3 separate regions of the Homo sapiens genome follow, and regions 1 and 2 are each linked to region 3. The links are contacts of gene promoters, found by promoter capture Hi-C in blood cells and fetal thymus (Javierre and others, 2016). All regions are on one chromosome and are shown on one strand. Each heading gives the region's core, a stretch centred on a gene start or on the middle of the fragment in contact. The rest is flanking DNA. Distances are from core to core; before and after follow the strand shown. Region 1 overlaps FKBP1A (FKBP prolyl isomerase 1A). Region 2 overlaps NSFL1C (NSFL1 cofactor). Region 3 holds the start of SNRPB (small nuclear ribonucleoprotein polypeptides B and B1).

Region 1 (4,434 bases), core at 1-2,500, 1.1 Mb after region 3:
GCAGAGCACAGACTGACCTTTACCACATGGATGCTTTAAATGCCACTAATGGCTGTCAGTCACCTTGATGTCACTCTCAAGGGTCCCTCTGGTGACTTCCGTGACCTTCTGGCAGAGCACAGCATGAGCAAGGCCTCAAAGGAATGCCTGCACTACCTCTGTGGTACCAGAGGGAAAATACAAAGTTCACTATCACCAGCTAAGCATCTCCTAGGAGCATGACAGGCATTGAGGTGGGAGGGAGGTGGTGGAAAGGTAAGCTGCCAAGTAAGTGCCTTTAGGAGCCAGGGAATTCTCATGGCGCCTCCCTGCTGCCTCCAGTAGCTTCGTCATCTTTACTGTTAGCTTGTCCTGGCACACAGCTAGGTTTAGACCTCTTTTACTTACTTCAGCAGGCCGTGTGCCTGCCATTGTGAGAGCAGCCCCAAGGGGATTGAAGGAATGTTTTCTTTTTTCTTCTTAAAAAGTAACTAACTGGACATTTTGTCCTTGGGATCAGGTTTAAGTCAGGTATAGCCTCCCGGTTTCTGACTGAGAAAAACCAGGAGCCCCTCAACCTCATGTCCTCAGGAGGTTGACTGGGAAGGCTGCTGAGGCTCCCGGGACAGGTGTGGCCACTTTGCTGCAGCCTCCCTCAAGCCCCTTGCTTTTCCTTAGCTTTGTTCCCCCCTCTCCTCTGCTTTATTCCATCCACTCCCTTGCTAGGTATCTCTTGGTTGGTGATCTGATGTCTGGAGGGAGGCTCACCCTCAGCAGAGATGCCTCAGATGGCTTCCCCTGACGTGTGCTGTCTTGAGGCACACAGGCTGTAACTGTTGGGCAGGGCTGCAACAAGTCCCTTTGCCTTCCCACAGCAGATGTTTTTTGAGCAACAGCAGCAAGCCAGGCTCTAGGGACATGGCTAGTGAACTAAATAGACAAAGACCTGATCTGGTGGGGCTTTGCTTATGATGAGGAGACTGATAGTATGGCCATGGAGCACATCAGGTAGTAAGAAGCGCTGGAGAGATTAAAGCAGAGTGAGGGATGGGAAGGGAAGTTGGCTGCTTTTCGTGAGGGTGATTGGAAAAGGCCTCTGAAAAAAATGGCATTTTAACATTCACTCAAAGGACATTGGAGAGGGAGCTACAGGGCTGTCTAGAGTATCCAGGCAGAGGGAAGAGCTAGTGCAGGACCCTGAGGCTGGAGCCTGCTCGGTGCATTAGAGGAACAGTAAGAAGACCGGTGCGTTAGAGGAACAGGAAGTGGATTGTGTGAAAGGGTATGTGGCAGGAGATGAGGGGATGGTGGAGCCTCGTTGGTTTTTATAAAAACGTTGCCTTTTTCTAACTCAGGTGAGAGCCACTGGCTGGCTTGGCTTTTAATGCCCGCCCCCGCCCCCCCAACCCACGCTCCTTCTGGCTACTGTGTGGACAATGGGCTTTTGGGGGCAAAGGCAGAAACAGGACACTGGTTGTATCCCAGGTGTGTGGAGTGCCAGCTCAGGCAGTGGGCAGAAGTGGTGCCAGGTGGACAGTGATCCCCAAAGAGCATGTGGGTTCTTCGCTGTGTTCTGATCTTGACCCTGCCATACAACGGGCTATGAGAGCTTGAACAAATTGTCCCACAGTTCCCAGCTTCCACATGCTGTCTATAAAATGGGAGTAACGATGCCTGCTGTGAAGCAAATGCCTATCGAGACTACCCAGTTGTCTCCAAAGTGTTGCTCTTTTTTAAAACCACAGTTCCATTGAGCCTCACTCATCGCAGTTGTTATGTCTGTAATCTCAGTCTAGAAGAGTCCTTACGCTGTTTTTTTCTTAATAACTCTGATTTCTTCAAAGAGAGCAGGCTAGTTATAGAATACTCCACATCTGTCTTACTGTTTTCTCATGGTATTGTTTAACTTGTTCCCTGCCTTGATTTTCTGAACCGGATGTTTAATCTTTTAAGTGTCTGAATAGATTCCGTTTAAACATTTTAGTGTGAGTACTTCATCCTCAGCACACATGGGAAACATCACTAGTTGTGATGCTAAATTTGATCTTTTCTGTAAAGGTACATTTTTCCCTTTGCATTTAGCAGTGATCTGTGGAGTGCTTAGGTAGCCATAGATGGTCTCTTGCTCATCAGCCTTTCACCTAGTGGTGTTTACACCATCTGATCATTCTCCCCTGAAGAAGTCACTGGCATTCACAAAGTGTTGATTTTTAAAATTCCTTCATTCTTTCTAAATTTATTAGCTGTTATCCTTCTATAAGATAAGGTAAAGTAATTCTTTACCTTTAAATACCAAATTTTATTTTTATTTTTTGAGACAGTGTCTCTGTCACTCAGGCTGGAGTGCAGTGGCTTGATCATGGCTCACTGTAGCCTCGACCTCCCAGACTCCCATCCCGGCCTCCCATCCGGCCTTCTGAATAGTTGGGCATACAGGTGCATGCCACCTGTCCTAATTTTTGTATTTTTTGTAGAGACGGGTTTCGCCAGGTTTCCCAGGCTAGTCTCAAACTCCTGGCCTCAAGTGATCCACCCTCCTTAGCCTCCCAAAGTGCTGGTAGTACAGGCATGAGCCACCGTGCCCAGCCTTTAATTACCAATTTTTAAAATGAAAAATGAATGTTAACTGATGGGGTATTGCCATTCCCAGTGGGGGCAAGTGACTTTTTCCCCCTCTATTTGCTTTGACTGTACTGTGGGCTGAAATTTTTTGTCAGGGCCTTAAGATCAATGATACCCATTATTCTTTTTGATGCTAATATCATCCTAAATTTGGCCAGTAGGAGCCCTTTAAGCTGGCTCCAGTACCTTTTTGACAGGCTCCCACCATTCCTTCATCCATTTCTCGGTTTCACTACTCTGGTCCAATTATCAGCCATCTTTCAAAGAGCTCTGGTTCCTTTCAGTGGGGTCCATGACCTTTTTTTTTCTTGGTAACAGCTTTATTGAATATAATTTACATACCATAAATTCACCTATTTACTCATAGATGTTTTAACTAGAACATTTTTAGGCTTAAACTGATTTTTATGAATTACTGAGGGGTTTATTGTATCCATAAACTGGAAATCATTTGTCTGCCTTGGAATTTTCTCTAAAAATATTGTCACCTGCTGTTTCCCATGGAAGAAGCCAAGGTTATGAATAACTTAATCACATAGCATTCAGTTCTCCCTTTGGTGCTCATGGTGACATTTGTTTATTTTTACTTCTATTTTTTCTTCTGTTTTTTTGTTTTCTTTTCCTGCTAAAAAGCTTAACCAAGTCTCTGCATTCCCTCCCCTGGACCCCTTTGATTTTGACCAGGTGTATTCTAGCAGTGCAGAAAGTCGGGGAGGTAGAAATAACCAGTTCTTAGATGCTACTGTCTCTTTCTGTTACATTTGCTCTTCCTCTCCCAGGAGCTCAAGCCACCTTGGCCTGCATTCATTCCTCGAATGCTCCAAGCCTTTTCCCACATGGAGGTCTCTGCCCCTTTGCTTAGGTGCCACCACACTGCCCCCACTCCCCACTGCATGACAGGCTCTTTTCTTTATAGCACAGCTTAAGTAACACTTTGGATGCATACATGCATGCTTCTAATTCTGCAACAATGCACCCATCTATTTTCTTAGCCCCCATCATAGTCAGGATCCGTGTAGTTAAACATCTGCTCTTTCCCCAACCGACTGAAGGCTCCAGGAGGCCAGACCCACACTAGTGTTGTTCTCCAAGGTCTCCCCATCAGTCTTGGCATAGAGTAGCTATTCAGTGACTGTTTGAATGAGTGGCCAGTTAGGACCTGGCATTCCCTCGGTCACTCAGTGAATATATAAGGAGCTGGGCAAAGCCTCAATGTTGCCCTCAAGAAGCTTACCCTGTAGGGAGTGGTCAGTTACAATGAAAGTACCTCAGGCAACCTACACCTATAGGCTAGAACTTCTTGGAGGAAGTGCCATTTGGTCTTGGGTGTGTATGGTGCAGTCAGGCAGGAGGAAAGCGTCTTCCAGGTATATACACAGGCCAGGAGGAGAAAAGGGTACCTTTGATATTTCTGTAAGTACTTGATGAATGTCTGCTATGTACAAGACACTGTCCTGGCTACCAAGAATTTAGGAGTGAAGAAGACACAGTTCCTGCCTTCATCTCACACTGTAGTGGAAAAGACATAATAAATATGATTAATAAGCAAGACTGTTGTGTATAAGCTAGTAAGTGTTAAGGAGGGAATAGGAAAAGGTTGAGGTTTTAGATAGATTGGCAAAGGCCTCAATGAGAAAGTGACATTTGAGCAAAGACTTGAAGGAGGTAAGGATGTAACCTATGTGACTGTTTGAGCAAGATCATTTTAGGCAGAGAGAACAGCAAATGCAAAGGCCCACGGGTGGAGGTATCCCTGGTGTGTATGTAGAACATAAGGAAACAATGTTCTGGGACTGGAAAAGTACAAGAGTAATCAGAGGTGAAGTCAGAGGG
Region 2 (4,089 bases), core at 671-3,170, 1.0 Mb after region 3:
GGCCGCTCATTTCCACTTCCGAAGTCCAGCCCGGGAGTTGACCGCCGCCCAGCCTTCCTAATTGCTGGGAGAATACCTCTGGGGTGGTGGCGCAAGGTTGGAGCTTCTTCACCTTGCGTAGTTAACTTATCTGTAAAATGGGAGTCTCGTGGAAATTGCTGTGTAGTTCATTGGCACGTACTGAGTATTCACTAAATACTTGCTAAGAAGACTTAAGCTTCACGAGGCAGGGATTTTTGTACACTGATGAATTCCCAGTGCCTGGAACAATGCCTGGCACATAATAAGCATTCGGTAATTAACTGTAGAAAGAATTGCATAAATATTCTTGGCCAGCTTCGTCTTAGGTAGATGATGACGGTGATGACTAATATTTATTGAGTACCTACCATGAGCCAAGCGCTGTTCTGACTGCTTTACATGTCTTTTGTCATTTAACCTTCGCATTTTGCAGCTGAGATTAAAGAGGTTAAGTAACTTGCTCAAGGCCTCACTAGCTACCAGGCAGAAGAGGTAGAAGTGGAACCCAGTTCTGTCTGATTGCAAGCAGACAGAGCCCAAGCTTTAAACCACCATGTGCCAAGCACTTTACATAATATGATTCGTTGGATCCTAGCAACACTATGAGGTAAAGACTAGACCCATTTTATGGATGAGGAATTGGAAGCACAGAGGGCAAAGAATTTGCTCAGGGTCACATAGCCAGTAAGTAGCGGGGTTGGAATTTGAACTGAGTCTGCTGCCAAACGTAAATTACTCCCCAAACATAAGAATTCGGTAAAGCATCACACCTAGATCACACCTAGACACAATGGGAAGCCCCTATGCTGGGCAGAAATAAAAAGTTTCTACCTGAAAGACCTAAAAGCACACAGTGTTGTGACCAACAGATCTTCTGTCTCGTTCCCCTCACATTGTAGTGGGGAAACTGAGGATCATGCATGTGACTTGCCTGGCAGGAACAGGACTTGAATGTAGGCTCCCTGAGAATGCCAGTTCACTACATGGCCTGAGACAGCACACTGCCTCCCAGCAGATTACTTTTATCCCTTGACAGCTCACTGTCTCCTGTGAAGTTGGTGACCCTGAGGACAGAGGCCATGTCTATTTCATCTCTGTGACCTCAATGCTTTCTTGTGTTTGTGCAAAGCAAGTGATTAGTGAATGCCTGTCCGTTGAGTTGGTGACAGAGATGTCACAAATGACCAAAGGATTCCCATATTCCTTCTGTATGTGTAAACCTAAGATGCGAGTATGCATAAATCTTAATGGATTATCTCATCCAGTGTGCAGGTTGGTGAGACAGGTACCCCCATTTCACAGATTAGGAAACAACTTGAAAGAAAGGAAAAGTAGCAACCTGGACTGACTCCACAGTTCCTGACTCCGGGCTGTACTGGAAGCGCTTAAGAGTGAGGGCCTAAGCACACTAGCAGGGATGGAACCTGGCTCCTCTCTTTACCAGTTGTGTAAACTTGAACAAATTTTTTTTTAATCCTCAGTGCTTCTGTATCAACTATAAAATGAGATGATAAGAGTACTAATAGCATAGAGTTCTTGAGGATTAAACAAATTAACGTATGTAGAATGCTCAGAACAACCTGGCATGTAAATGCTCACTAAATGTGTGCTACTTTTACTAGATCACGTTTCTTCATAAAATGAGAATAAAGAGTGTCTTCCACCCCAGCCATTCTTACTGCCTTCTTTTCACCTTAGTGGGTGGAATTTGTTTCAGTTGACACGAAGACTAACAGCTGAGCTGTTAACCTTCTGGTCTAATTTTCTTTGGCCCATGGATGCAAGCTACCTTGTAAGTGTTGGCCATGTCTGTATTCCTTTGTGCTCAAAGGAGATGTGCGTTAGGTGAAGGCCTGTTTAAGGGTCCCAAGGTACTACCTCTCTGTTTCAGATCGCGCTAGCGAGCTTTTATGAGGACGGAGGGGATGAAGACATTGTGACCATTTCGCAGGCAACCCCCAGTTCAGTGTCCAGAGGCACAGCCCCCAGGTAAGGGCCAGCTTCAATTATCGCTACATGAGTGTTTCCAGCAGTGAAGAGGAGCTATTTTCTGACCAGAGCGTTCAGGCCTGGGTGTGTGGACCAGGTCTGAATGAGAAGGTTAGACTGAGTCAATGGGTAGTACTTCCCAGCAGGCCTCAGTCATTTCCTATACAGAGATGCATGACTTTTAACTGGGTGTGGTTTATGGTTCAATCCTGGGGGAAACCACAAACCTACTTTTAAGACTTTTACTTATGTAGTATGAGGAATGACCACTGCAACTCTAAAGTTTTTAAGTAAAAGCCAAAAAACTTCCTTTCAAGGGTGCTATAGATGTGAAAGTTTAGGCGAAATGACTTAGGAAAGCTGTTTTGATATTTTAGGATGCCCGTTACCTTATTAAGAAGTCTTGTACAAAATAAACCTGTGTAACCCACCCTTTGCCAAGTTGATTAGGGAGACCTTGTCTTACTAGGTAAAACAGTGTTAACCTTTGCAATCCCATTTGCATCCCCTGTCGCTGCCTCCCACAGCACCCACAGCAGATTACTCCTGTGCTCTGCAGAGTGAGACAATGCTGGTCTTCCAGGAGACAGGCAGGGGTGCTTCCTGTAAAGGTGTCTGAACCTTTACAGAGAGTGTGTAAGCAGAGGTGTCTCCCCTCTCTGCTTTCGCCTTATTGCTTCTACTCTCTAGTGTATGTTTTAGCCAGGAAATTTTATTTGGGTTTGAATTCAACCCCAGAATATAACCAACAGTGTTTCTTTGCCATGAAGTGGTAAATTATGTTTCTCTCTAAAGGCAACTGAGGTTTAAAATATATTTCCTCCCTTCGAAGAAGGAGCACTAACCCCAGATCTCATTGCTTTCTTCTTTCCCTAACTCCCATCCAGAGAAAAGAGGTAGGAGGAAAGTGATCTTGTAACTGTTTGCACGTGCTAACCTATGAGATGTTGGTGATGGCACATCTGGGTATTACTGCTTGGGACATGTTGTTAGGGTAAGTGCTGTTCTTGCAGCTGCTAGTAGAGATGGCTGATTTTCTGGGGTATGAGTCTTTGACAGCCACCTTAGGGTGTTGTTGGGATGTTGGCATGTCAGAATTATAGAGGGGGAGAGATTTAAACTTAGTCTCTAATGCCAGTTACATGTTTACTCCTTTCTTTTCTCCAGTAATCCCAAAGTTCTATTAAGGCAGTGGTTTATTAGCATGGGCCCAGGAGCCTGACTGCGTTGGTTCAAATCCCAGCTCTGCCACTTAAGTAAAAGCTTTGTGACCTTGGGCAGGTTACTTAACGTTTCAGTTCCTCATTTTCCTCGCCTGTCAAATGGTAATGATAGTGCCTACCACATGGGAGACTGAATGAGTTAATACTTACAAAGCAAATAGAACACAGCATGTGTTGTTATTATAATTTTAGTATTATCATTTTTAGCATTCATTCTCAATTGACCTGTTTTGTTTACTCTATTCCCCAACAAGTATGTACATTTAAGAATAGGCATAAAAGTGGCCAGGCGCGGTGGCTCACACCTGTAATCCCAGCACTTTGGGAGGCCGAGACTGGTGGATCACGAGGTCAGGAGATTGAGACCATCCTGGCTAACATGGTGAAACCCCGTCTCTACTAAAAATACAAAAAAAATTAGCCAGGTGTGGTGGCAGGAGCCTGTCATCCCAGCTACCCGGGAGGCTGAGGCAGGAGAATGGCGTGAACCCGGGGGGCGGAGCTTGCAGTGAGTCGAGATTGCGCCACTGCACTCCAGCCTGGGCGACAGAGCAAGACTCTGTCTCAAAAAAAAAAAAGGCATAAAAGTAAAAGAATCAAGGACATAGAGTTTAACATTAGAACTGAAGTGAGTAAAAAGACTGGACGCACATTTGGTCCAAGAGGCATTGCTTTATTGCTCTGGTTAAGGCTCAGACTTGGTAGTAGGCTTAGAAAAGAACTGAAGACAAGAAAAAGGGAGGGAGGAGGGCGCAGTGTGTTGCATGGTTTGTCCTTGTTGAGGAGGAAAGCAAATGCTAGGACTACATTCTCAGGAAAAACCAAACTTGTGCTAGCACCTCAGAGGAATTCTGTG
Region 3 (4,130 bases), core at 195-2,694:
CAGAGACGATGGTGGCTATGACTAGAGTGGACGCAATGGAGTGGGTGACAACAATCATATTCAAGATAATTTGAAGGTGGGGGCCACAGGATTTGCTGATGAATTTGATTATTCGATGGCAGAGAAAGAGAAGAATGAAATATGCTTCAAATTTGTCATTTTCTTTTTTTTCTTTTTTAATCCAAGAAACTTCGGGGATGGGGAACACTGGTGAAGTGGTTTTAGAAACAGTGAATAGAATCAAGAATTCAGTTTTCAACATGTTAAATTTGGTATACCTATTAGACATTCACATCACGCTGGCAGCTGGATATAAAGGGCCAAGAGTTAAATGAAGAGACCAAGGTTAGAGGAACAAACTTGAAAGCCTTGGGTGTATATGCTGTATTTAAAAGTCATAGGAAGGGCCCAGTGTGATGGTTCACGCCTGTAATTCCAGCACTTTGGGAGGCCAAAGTGGGTGGATCAGGAGTTCGAGACCAGGAGTTGAGGTCAGGAGTTCGAGACCAGCCTGGCCAACATGGCAAAACCCCGTCTCTACTAAAAATACAAAAATTAGCCGAGTGTGGTGGCACAGGCCTGTATTCCCAGCTACTCGGGAGGCTGAGGCAGGAGAATCGCTTGAACCGGGGAGGCAGAGGTTGCAGTGAGCCGAGATTGTGCCACTGCACTCCAGCCTTGGTGACAGACTGAGACTCTGTCTCAAAAGAAAAAAAAAAGTCATAGAAAAAAAATAAATGTCATACGACTGGATGCGATTATCAGCAAATATGGGTAGAGCCCTTATTTTGTGCTAAAGTGTTCTAGGCACTACAGCAATGAGTAATACACAAAGAGAAAAATTCACACCCTTATGGATCTTACATTCTAATGGGGAGGGGATAATAAAATAACTAACAAAAATATACAGCGTGTTAGATAGCAAGAGGGAAATACAGGAGAGATGAGGATGAGGTGGGTGGGAAGGTTACAGGATGGCTAGGGAAATCCTCACTGGGAAAATGTTATTTAAGCTTAAACCTTGAAAGAGGTGAGGGCAGCAGCCTTCTGGTATACCTTGGGGACTACCATTCCAGGCAGAGGCGAAAGCAAATGCAGAGGGGCTGAAAAAGGAGCACGTCCAGCCAGTGGAGGGAAAAGCAAGAATAGTGACTGTAGAGGAGAGAGCCGGGGAGGGTGATGGGAAATGAGGACCGAGAGGTTAATGGGAAAGGCGGGGTGAAGAGAAATGAGTGTGACACAGAGCAGCTCTCAGTACGGATTTAAGCTAGGAAGGTGTCCAAACAGGAACTTAAGGCTCTCCTTACGTCAAAGCCGGATGTTAACGCCCAGTCCCCAGGCCCCGCCTCTGCTCGGCAGAAGCTCCGCTCCGGGGCCGGAACTCCAGGGCTAGTGAGCTGGACCGGAAGTAGGTTTCTACCCGACCGCATTTTACGTGGTGCTGCATTTCCGGTAGCGGCGGCGGGAAATCGGCTGTGGGAGAGAGGCTAGGCCTCTGAGGAGGCGAATCCGGCGGGTATCAGAGCCATCAGAACCGCCACCATGGTAAGGAGGGCACAGGCTGGCGGCGCGGGAGCTTCCGAGTCTGTTGTGGAGTGGGAACCGCGACTGATCGGGGAGGAAGCCGTGGGTTGGAGCCACTTAGGGCGGTGAAGGCCTGGGCCGAGGCCGCTCGGTCTGGGCGGGAAAGACCAGGACCTTGGCGGTTCGGCTAGGCATGGGGTCGAGGAAAAGGTTGGAACCGGTGTCGGAGGCCGAGGTCGCTCGGCAGGGGCGAGGGTAGAACCGCGGCTCTCGACACCGCTGTAGCCATAATTCCTGGGACCCAGTAGGCACTAAGTTAACTTTTGCCGAATAAATATATGTCCCGGGCTTCGGAGCAGGCACTGGAGCCGCAGGGGGACCCGGTAAAAGGCTCAGACTTGCGGAAGTTTGTGAGTCTGAGAAAGAGTTGGCGGAAGTGGGTGGAAGGGGCTCGTGGACCACGCTAGAGTCTCGCTAGGTCTGCTGGATGGAGAGGAGGGCGGAGGAGGGTGATGGCGAATGGAGGAAGAGCTCCACTCAGTTGCTCATCACGTTTCCGTGTTTGCCTGTGCCTGACTTCTCAGGCGCTGGGGCTACTCTCTGAAATATGTTTGCTTCCTTCACAGAGGTAGCTGGGGACACATAATATAATTCAGTGTGGTCATTCGGTAAAAGTAACGGCAGCGGGGCGGGGTAAGAATGTTTTCTCAAATAGATGGTTCCTGAGCAGATTCCTAAAAGATTAGCAAGAATGTTCCCGGCGAAAATGGGGGGAATATTACAGACCCGGAGAACTGAAGGAACAAAGGCTGAAGGGTAACAAGATTTAAAAAGTTACTGGATTTTTCTGCGTTTGTTGACTGAGAAAAAGTTGCTGGAGGAGAAAGGAAGAAAGAAGGGAAGACGGGAAGAATTGGCAGGAGGCTAGTTACTAAAGGCCTTGCATGTTAATTTTACCTCAGTGGTGGTGAGGCATGTCATTGAAGGATTTAATTTAATTTATTTTTATTTTTTTGAGACGGAGTTTTGCTTTTGTTGCCCAGGCTGGAGTGCGGTGGATCGATCAGGGTTCACTGCAAACTCCACCTCCCGGGTTCAAGCGATTCTCCTGCCTCAGCCTCCCAAGTAGCTGGGATTGTAGGTACCCGCCACCACACTTGGCTAATTTTTTGTATTTTTAGTAGAGACGGGGTTTCACCATGTTGGCCAGACTGGTCTCGAACTCCTGACCTCAGTTAATCCACCCACCTTGGCCTCCCAAAGTGCTGGGATTACAGCCGTGAGCCACCACACCCTGCCCACTGAAGGATTTTAACCAGCAAAATGACATAAGCTTAGTGGTGTTTAGAAAGATTGCTCTAGCTCTGGCATGTATATTCGATGGGACTGGAAGCAGGGAAACCTGGTAGGATATTGTTTGGATAACTGGTTAGAATAGGCGCTGGATTCATTTTGTCTAGGTTCCAACACAGCTTCCCAGCTGTGAAACTGGGCAAGTTACTTAACCTCTCCTAGCCTCAGTGACCTCATCTGTAAAATAGGGATAATAATGGGCCCAATTTTGGGGATTAAATGAGATGTACTGTGCTTATCACAGTGCCAGATACACAGTGAGCACCCAGTAAACATTAGTTGAGCTGGACCAGTGAATGTTGCCCTAAAGGTTCAGATCCCTTGTGGTTAGAAGCTGGTTAAAATGGTCATTGAATGGAAACTGAACCACCTAACCTGAGGGAGGCTCGCAGTATCTTTGTGTGGAGTCAAGTTTTGTTTTTGTTTTTTTGAGATGGAGTCTTTCCCTGTCACCCAGGCTGGAGTGCAGTGGCATGATCTCAGTTCACTGCAGCCTCCACCTCCCAGGTTCAAGCGATTCTCCCATCTCAGTCTCCCGAGTAGCTGGGATTACAGGCACCTGCCACCACGTGTGGCTAATTTTTGTAATTTTAGTAGAGACGGGGCTTCGCCATGTTAGCCAGGCTGGTCTTGAACTCCTGACCTAAGGTGTTCTGCCCACCTCGGCCTCCCAAAATGCCGGGATTGCAGGAGTGAGCCACTGAGCCCGGCCATGGAGTCAAGGTTTTGATCTGCATATTTGCAGGTTCAGAACTTTGTTGTCTGAGCTCACAGAGATGAACAGATGTCCATAGAAGGCACTTGGTGGGTTAGGACTTGGGTATAGCAGTCAGACTGATGGGAGGATGATATACAGATCAAATGCCAGGTGATTTGTTTATAGAGAGAAATACAACTGCTTAGGGTACCTGACAGTTCACAAAGTGATACCTATATAGTCACTTCTTTATTTTAGCACATTGGAACCCAGGTTATGAAAGCAGAAATGTTTGTTGGGTTAAAGACCATTATATGTCCAAACTGGTTAGCACCCTAACCATCAGAAGTTTCCCTCTGCCAAATATAGTCTTGGAGGCACACTAACAAATTCTTGATATGTGGATTTCATTTTTCACCTTGAAGCTGATCTCCTTCCTGATAACAAGCTTCTTGTTGATTAGATTTTTAGTTTCAGCCCTATTCTAGCTCTTCCTTTACTCAGTGTTTTTAATGAGATTTGAATGTTCCATAGCACTTGAGTCACATATCTATAA

The links. Contacts are between HindIII fragments. The CHiCAGO score rates a contact against its expected background, and 5 or more counts as called.
Region 1: a contact is called between a fragment that was not itself captured here and the fragment with the promoter of SNRPB in region 3, in 1 of 17 cell types (fetal thymus). The highest score is 5.4, in fetal thymus.
Region 2: a fragment that was not itself captured here is called in contact with the fragment with the promoter of SNRPB in region 3 in 1 of 17 cell types (total B cells); the score reaches 5.6 in total B cells.

The regions. Positions count from the first base shown.
Region 1 is chr20:1,385,697-1,390,130 of GRCh38, reverse strand. The region is part of intron 2 of FKBP1A (FKBP prolyl isomerase 1A); the gene reads left to right. The region is part of intron 2 of FKBP1A-SDCBP2 (FKBP1A-SDCBP2 readthrough (NMD candidate)); the gene reads left to right. Among named protein-coding and RNA genes, the nearest start is that of MIR6869, 5.0 kb to the left of the region's middle. The HindIII fragment of the contact is 3,972 bases long and covers 1-3,236 here.
Region 2 is chr20:1,462,250-1,466,338 of GRCh38, reverse strand. NSFL1C (NSFL1 cofactor) reads left to right here. Exons shown (of 9, transcript NM_016143.5): 2 at 1,913-2,010. Among named protein-coding and RNA genes, the nearest start is that of NSFL1C, 2.6 kb to the left of the region's middle. RefSeq lists an enhancer at 1-261. The HindIII fragment of the contact is 2,711 bases long and covers 565-3,275 here.
Region 3 is chr20:2,468,103-2,472,232 of GRCh38, reverse strand. It overlaps SNRPB (small nuclear ribonucleoprotein polypeptides B and B1), which reads left to right and starts at 1,444. Exons shown (of 7, transcript NM_003091.4): 1 at 1,444-1,545. The coding sequence starts at 1,543. RefSeq lists enhancers at 1,435-1,484, 1,495-1,544, 1,705-1,824. The HindIII fragment of the contact is 1,844 bases long and covers 1,016-2,859 here.